Linked DNA regions of Homo sapiens: region 1 is linked to region 2. The links are contacts of gene promoters, found by promoter capture Hi-C in human tissues and cell types (Jung and others, 2019). All regions are on one chromosome and are shown on one strand. Each heading gives the region's core, a stretch centred on a gene start or on the middle of the fragment in contact. The rest is flanking DNA. Distances are from core to core; before and after follow the strand shown.

The links. Contacts are between HindIII fragments. The study calls those that stand out against the background at their distance.
Region 1: a fragment that was not itself captured here is called in contact with the fragment with the promoter of CYB5B in region 2 in 4 of the 25 tissues and cell types used here (bladder, hippocampus, liver and 1 more).

The regions. Positions count from the first base shown.
Region 1 is chr16:69,479,304-69,482,983 of GRCh38, forward strand. No RefSeq gene overlaps it. Among named protein-coding and RNA genes, the nearest start is that of CYB5B, 57 kb to the left of the region's middle. The HindIII fragment of the contact is 7,934 bases long and covers 1-3,680 here.
Region 2 is chr16:69,422,111-69,425,869 of GRCh38, forward strand. CYB5B (cytochrome b5 type B) reads left to right here and starts at 2,509. Exons shown (of 5, transcript NM_030579.3): 1 at 2,509-2,747. The coding sequence starts at 2,574. RefSeq lists enhancers at 1,792-2,339, 2,340-2,887. The HindIII fragment of the contact is 13,364 bases long and covers 1-3,759 here.

The DNA.
Region 1 (3,680 bases), core at 1,169-3,668, 57 kb after region 2:
TGAGATGGAGTCTTATTCTGTCGGCCAGGCTAGAGTGCAGTGGTGGAATCTCGGCTCATTGCAACCTCCATACCCCAGGTTCAAGCAGTTCTCTTGCCTCAGCTTCCTGAGTAGCTGGGACTACAAGTGAGTGCCACCATGCCCGGCTAATTTTTTTATTTTTATTATTTTTTTAAATTTTTAGTAGAGACAGGGTTTTGCCATGTTGGCCAAGCTGTTCTCAAACTCCTGACCTCAGGTGATCTGTCTGCCTTGGCCTCCCGAAGTGCTGGGATTACAGGTGTGAACCACCACACCCACCTCAATCTACTGTTAATGGACATTAGGTCATTGGTTTTTTTTTTTGTTTTTTTTTGTTTTTTGCCAACAATACTACTATGAGCATTACTGCGTTTATAGCCTGGTTTGTGTGTGCAAGAATGTCTCCTGGATGTATACCTTGGAGTGGACCTGCAGTGTTGAGCCTTCCTTTGATTCACATCCTTGTCTGTTTGGGTTCTTTTCCATGCAGATGCCAATAACTGGGACCACAGGATAAAGAAAGTACTGGGTAGCCCCATGGAAAACACAGTATGCTTCCTCAAAAAGTTAAACATAGAGTTACCATGTGACCCAGCAATTCCACTCTTAGATATGTACCCAAGAGTATTGAAAACATGCTCACACAAAAACAAGTATGCCGATGTTCATAGCAGCTTACTCATAATAGCCCAAAGGGGCGGAAATGACCCAAACGTCTATCACCTGATGAATGGGTAAACAAAGTGTGTTGTCTCTATATACTGGAATGTTATTCAGCTATAAAAAGAAATCAAGTATTGATACATGCCCCACCATGGGTGAACCTTAAGAATACTGTGCCTAAGTGAAAGAAGCCAGACACAAATGACCACATACTGTAACTTCCATTGGAATGAAAAGTCCAAAATAGGCAAGTTCATAGAGACAGAAGGTAGATAAGTTGTTTCCGGGTGCAGGGGGAGGGGAGATGTGGGGAGTCACTGCCAAAGGGCACAGAGTTCCTTTTTGAGGGGATGAAATTAGACAGTGGTAATGGTCTCATCTCATATGTTTGTGAATACACTGAAAAACACTAAATTGTATACTTTAAAAGGGTGAATTTTGTGGTGCATAAATTCTTTTTTTTTTTTTTTTTTTTGAGATGGAGTCCTGCTCTGTCATCCAGACTGGAGTGCAGTGATGCGATCTCAGCTTACTGCAACCTCCGCCTCCTGGGCTCAAACCATCCTCCCACCTCAGCCTCCTGAGTGGCTGGGACTACAGGCGCACATCACCATGCCCAGACAATTTTTGCATTTTTAGTAGAGACGGGGTTTCCCCATGTTGGCCAGGCTGGTCTCAAACTCCTGACCTCAAGTGATCCACCTGCCTCGGCCTCCCAAAGTGCTGGGATTACAGGTGTGAGCCACCACACCCGACCCATAAATTCTTTCTTAATAAAAATGTAAATAAAATCACAATATCTTTATCATTGATTTATGTATTCAAAACACACGCATTAAGTACCTAAGACACGCCAGACATTCCCCAGCACGTTGCTGGGAAACACTGTATGAGTCAGACGTGGCCCCAGTATTGATCAGAACCATCCCCAGGCTCCTGACAGGTAACAAATGGCACATTCAAAAAGGGTCGTTGAGGAGAGTTTCATGAAGGGACATTTGCAGCCATGTGTGCAGGGCAGAGAGGAACTAGTTGAAGGCATGGTGAAGCATTTCAGGGTTGGTGACACATGGCAGCTGTTACTGCCCAGACAGGCAAGGGGAGAAAGTGGTTACTAGAGCCTGGTAAGGGTTGCAGCAGAGGGAGCGGGCAGGGTCCACAGCAGGGAGGGAGCCATCCTGGCCTCATTGTCCTCCACTCTCTCATCTCCTACTTGTGCCTCCCCTTAGGGGACACAAACCGGAAGCCTTTGGAGTTGGGAGCTTGGGGATCCTCCGTGGATGGGAACTGCGCGTGGGCGACCCAGGAGTCTGCAGAGACCCCCGAGGCACAGTCCCCATTGGTCAGCCTCCTGAGCTGTAGGCAGGAGGGGAGAGGGCTGGAGAGTGAATCGAAAGAAACAAACACAGTATGTCCAGCTGTTCCCATCCTCATAGACTCTACTTTTTATTTTTTATTTTTTTATTTTTTGAGCAAGGTCTTCCTCTGTCGCCCAGGCTGGAGTGCAGTGGCGTGATCACAGCTCACTGCAACCTTGACCTGCTGGGCTCAAGCGATCCTCCCACCCCAGCCTCCCCAGTAGCTGGGACTACAGGCCCATGCCACCACTTCAGGCTAATTTTTTAATTTTCTTTTTTGTAGAGACAGGGTCTCACTATATTGCCCAGGCTGGTCTCAAACCCCTGGGCTCAAGCGATCCTCCCACCTACCTCGGCCTCCCAAAGTGCTGGGACTACATTCGTGAGCCCCTGTGCCCAGCCAGCTCTACATTTTGAGTGAGGAGACAGACAGAAAAATGAAATAATTACAGAATGTGATCAACAAACAGGCTGGCATGAAGGAGGGTATCTTGGTGTGTGGGTGGGTGATGGGGTCACTTCAGATCTGGTGCTTGGGAGGATCTTTCCAAGGAGGAGGTGCTGCTTCAGCTGGGACCTGAAAGATGAGCACCTGGGTGATGAAGGCACTGTTTATTGAGATAAGAAAGCTTGGAGGAGAAACAGATTTGGGGAAGGAAACCAGGAATCCCCCTGGTTTCCTGTAAAGATAGGACATATATGCAAACACAGAAAAACAACAACTCCAGGCCCAGTGAGAATCCCTGGGGCTGCTGGAGAGGCTGAGCTGGAGCGGATGGCTGTGAGCTGACACCCAGGGCCTGCCTCTCGGAAGCCAGGACATGTGTGGACTGCGCCCTCCCTGGAGGTTACACGGAGTGCTGGCGCAGCACGCTGGCTCCGGGCCCTCCCGCTTGCTCTCAGGGCTCCTTCCAGCGTTCACTGGGACATTTGCCATGTCCTAGGTCCTTCTCTTACAAAGGCAAGAAGGGCCAGGCGAAGGGAGTGTTCGCCGAAAACCAAACGTGACACAACCTTAAATATAGGCAGGTGCTCTGATCTGATAGCACGGGTGGCCCCAGGGAGAAACATGGACTTGCCAACCATGAAGGGTCCAAAAATCTACTTAGAAAAACACTGAGGCCCATGATTAATACTGAGGTGCCCGGAGCACCAAGAGAGAAAAGCAGGCCCAACATCCTGGCTGGAGCAAAGTCAAGAGAGAAGGAGAGAAGGCAGCAGCCAGCACATGGCTCCTCCTGCGATGGGTCATCGCAGCATCTCTGTCCCGGCATCAGCCAGGGCCCACCTTCGGGTGCTTCCAGCCCACTCGACTCGGCACATCGCTGTATTTTCTTCCATCGAGATCTCTCCCCACTGGCTCTTTGCCCAGCCAGTTGCCCACAGACTGGAAAACAAAAGCTCACTGCCTTCCCTGGGGACCTGGGCTTAAGGGATGGGCCTTGGGCAGGCTGGGCGGATGCTCTGTTGATTTTTTTTTCCAAGTGCAGAGAATGTGACAGCCAATTCCTGTTGGAAGTGGCTTTTGTTTTCTTTGGAGCATGAAGCACTTTTCCTTTCTCTTGATTGTTTCAGTTCAGGTCATGTTTAGGATGGAGATGATTTGCTAGCCTAATTGCATGCCTTCCAGAACTGTGG
Region 2 (3,759 bases), core at 1,259-3,758:
TGAATGTTAAATTCTCTGAATTTGAAATTCATACTGCAGTTACGTGACAATATGTTCTTATTTTTAGAAGATACATGTAGAATTATTTGGCTGTAAAGGGTGGTGATATCTGAAATAGTTCAGCATTATTAACAACAATGATCAAAATAATATGGAAAAAATCAAATATTGAAAAATATTAACAGTTGGTAAACCTAAGCTAAAAGTATATGGTCATTCATTGTATTATTCTTGTAACTTACTTATTTGAAATTCTAAAAACATTTTCAAATATAATGTTACAGGTATATATCACTTAAGTGCTAGAATTTGTAATTTTTTTATTTTTTATTTTTATTTATTTATTTTTATTTTTTTGAAACAGGGTTTCGCTCTGTCATCCAGGCTGGAGCACAGTGGTGCGATCATACATCACTGCAGCCTCGACTTCCCAGGCTCAAGCCATCCCCAGATCTCAGCCTCTCAAATATCTGGGATTACAGTTGTGTGCCACCATGCGTAGATAATTTTTGTATTTTTTGAAGAGACAAGAGCCTCACTATGTTGCCCAGCCTGGTCTTGAACTCCTGGGCTCAAGTGATCTGTCCACCTCGGCCTCCCAAAGTGCTGGAATTACGGGGCTTGAGCCACCACATTCAGCCTGTAAATGTTTTTATTTCTTTCAGAGATTTTGTTTCTTATGTTATCTCTCTACTCCCAATGCCTATCATAAGACTTGTAACAGTAAATAGTAAATGTCTGGAATAAATGTAAATATTTGAATCTAGAGTTTGTGGAGGATCCTAAGAATCTTGTGAGATTGCTCTCATAGTGTCAGTCTAACTAGGGAGGTAAAATACGTAAAGTTAAAATTTACAGACGTAGCAGGCTTCCCAAAATAGTAATATGCTTTCTTAGGTACTACAAAGGGATGGAAGCACTGGAGCTCAAAACGGTAGGAGAAGTTTGAAAATAGAAGAAACTGAAGAGGAACTTGAAAAGCCGGTAGGCATTGAAAGGAAGAGGAGTCCTTGGGACAGCAATTGAGGGTAGAATGTGGAGTATCCCATGTTTCTACCACCATTCAGAATCCGATTTTCAAATGAATTCTGTGATGATCAGGATCAATCTGCACTATTTTAGTCTCTAAGTGATCTAAAATTAACTTGGTGGACCTGGGATGACCACGGATGTGGTTTTAAACCAGCAGGTTTCAGAGTCGGGGCGGGTGCAACAGGCTTATAAAGGGAATGGTGGAAAATATTATACGTTAGTGAAAGAGGTTGCGAATGGATTGTGGAGAGCCCTGAATGGTAGACTGCGAGAGTGACAGGATGAAAACGACGACATCATAGGAAGAGCAATCTGTCAGTTGTAATGGCAGTTAAAAAGTGGCGCACAACACTGTACCTTAACCAAACTTGGAATTCCAAAGTGCTGGGACCTCTAGCGGAGAGCAGTTGAGTTCAATTCTATTTTAGATCACGTAGAGACTAAAATAGTGCCGATTGATCCTGATCATCACAGAATTCGTTTGAAAATCGGATTCTGAATGATGGTAGAAACATAGGATACTCCACATTCTACCCCCAATTGCTGTCCGGGACAGCAATTGCCTTTCTAATCGACTGCCATGTTTAGCGATTACTATGCGCCAAGCGCTTTACAGGCACTCTCATTAAAATAGGCAAACCGGGCCAGGCGCGGTGGCTCACGCCTGTAATCCCAGCACTTTGGGAGGCCTACGCAGGCGGATCACCTGAGGTCAGGAGTTCGAGACCAGCCTGGCCAACATGGTGAAACCTACTCTCTACTAAAAATACAAAAATTAGCCGGGCGTGGTGGCGCATGCCTGTAGTTCCAGCTAGTCGAGAGGCTGAGGTAGGAGAATCGCTTGAACCTGGGAGGCGGAGTTTGCAGTAAGCCGAGATCGTGCCACTGCACTCTGGCCTAGGAGACAGAGCGAGAACTTGTCTCAAAAAAAAAAAAAAAAAAAAAAAAGGCAAACCCCTCTGTAAGAGAGTGCTTTATCAAGCCCATTTTACTGATGGGGAAATTGAGGAGAGACGGGATTGGCCAGATCACGACCTGGAGGCAGCAAAGATGTAAAATCAGGGTTGGGATACAGGCTGCGCCGGTAGTGTAGGGGATAGGAACTTTCTGAGACTCAGGAGAAAGCCACAGCGATGGGAAGGGAAGCAGAACACTGGAGACCCTAAAGGCCCACAGGCTGAGAGAAGTGGTACCTCTCCTGAAGTGACACCTGTCAGCACGCCTCTTTTGGGCGCCAGTCCAAAAATCGCGGTATCTGATTGGCGAGGTTGGAGGGGGCTGAACGACCCTAATTGGTTAGTTGGACCTCGAACCAGACTTTCATCTGGAGGATCGGGCGAGGAGTGGGCGGGATTTCGAACTGAGCCACTCCCTTCATTGGTGAAAAGAAAACGAACCAGGAACTATTCGGAAGTGTGATTGGCTGTTGCTAGGAACCGTCTCAAGGCCTTATGGGCCCTGGTTACGGAAGCCGAGGAAGGCTGAGCGCGGGCTCTCAAGGAAAGTAGTCGCGGAATCTCAGTTAGCGGTGGAGAGGCAGTATGTCCGGTTCAATGGCGACTGCGGAAGCTAGCGGCAGCGATGGGAAAGGGCAGGAAGTCGAGACCTCAGTCACCTATTACCGGTTGGAGGAGGTGGCAAAGCGCAACTCCTTGAAGGAACTGTGGCTTGTGATCCATGGGCGAGTCTACGATGTCACCCGCTTCCTCAACGAGGTGGGGCCTGGGAGGTGGGAGGCCTCTGAAGCTGCTGGGGCGAGGGGTGAAAAGGCTGTGTGGAGTGTATGTGGGAAGGAAGGGAGGCTTGGCTGGGGGCGATAAGGCGTAAGAAAGGGATCACGACCCTCAGAGGGAAACTGGGGTGGGATTGGGGGAGGGCTTTAGTTTGCATGCATTTCCAGTCAGCTCCGAGTTCTGGTGCCTTATGTAATATCATGTATTACTTATGTGTCGAGCATTTGCTGTGTGCTCAGCTAAACTCTAAGCCATCATTATCTTTATTTTACAGAAAGGGAAACTGAGGCTCACAGGTTGAGGACTCTCAGGGCCATAGAGTTAGCAGCTTAGATCCGTTGAACCTAGGTCTGAAGTGCACCCACATCTGTGCTTTTCCAGTGTGCCTTCTGAAGTAATACCGGTTTTGGTTTTCGTCTTCTAGAGTAGAAGCTGAGATTTCTCTCCACACGCTTCCCCATCTTGATTATGCCTCCACTGTTTTTTTTTCCCCCTAATCTGAGTTGACCTTGAGGCCAGAAACTCATAAATCAACCCTTTTTTTTTGTTTTTGACTCATGTTTTGTCATTTTTCTTAAATATTCAAGACTGTTTTATTTAATCTTCAAGTCTGTTGCATTACATCTCATTTTAAAAATTATTTTTGAGACCATGGTGCAACTAATTTTTTTTTTAAGGAAACAGGATAGACTTCTAAATATTTAAAACTTTATTGAGGTGTAATGTACATACGTAAATTGTGCCTATCTAAAATGTACATTTTGATGAGTTTTGAAAAATGTATTCATCCATGTTAAGACATAAACCATTTCCATCATTCTAAAAAGCTTCCTTTCCCTTTGCAGTCATTCTCTCCCAACCCCAGGCAACTAGTGATATGCAGCCGCTAAAGATTGGTTTGAAGCTTTGATTTTCGGTGTGTGTATGTTTGAAGCTTTGATTTTCGGTTTGTGTGTGATCATTTTATTTTGAGCAATAGATTAATGACTTGTGA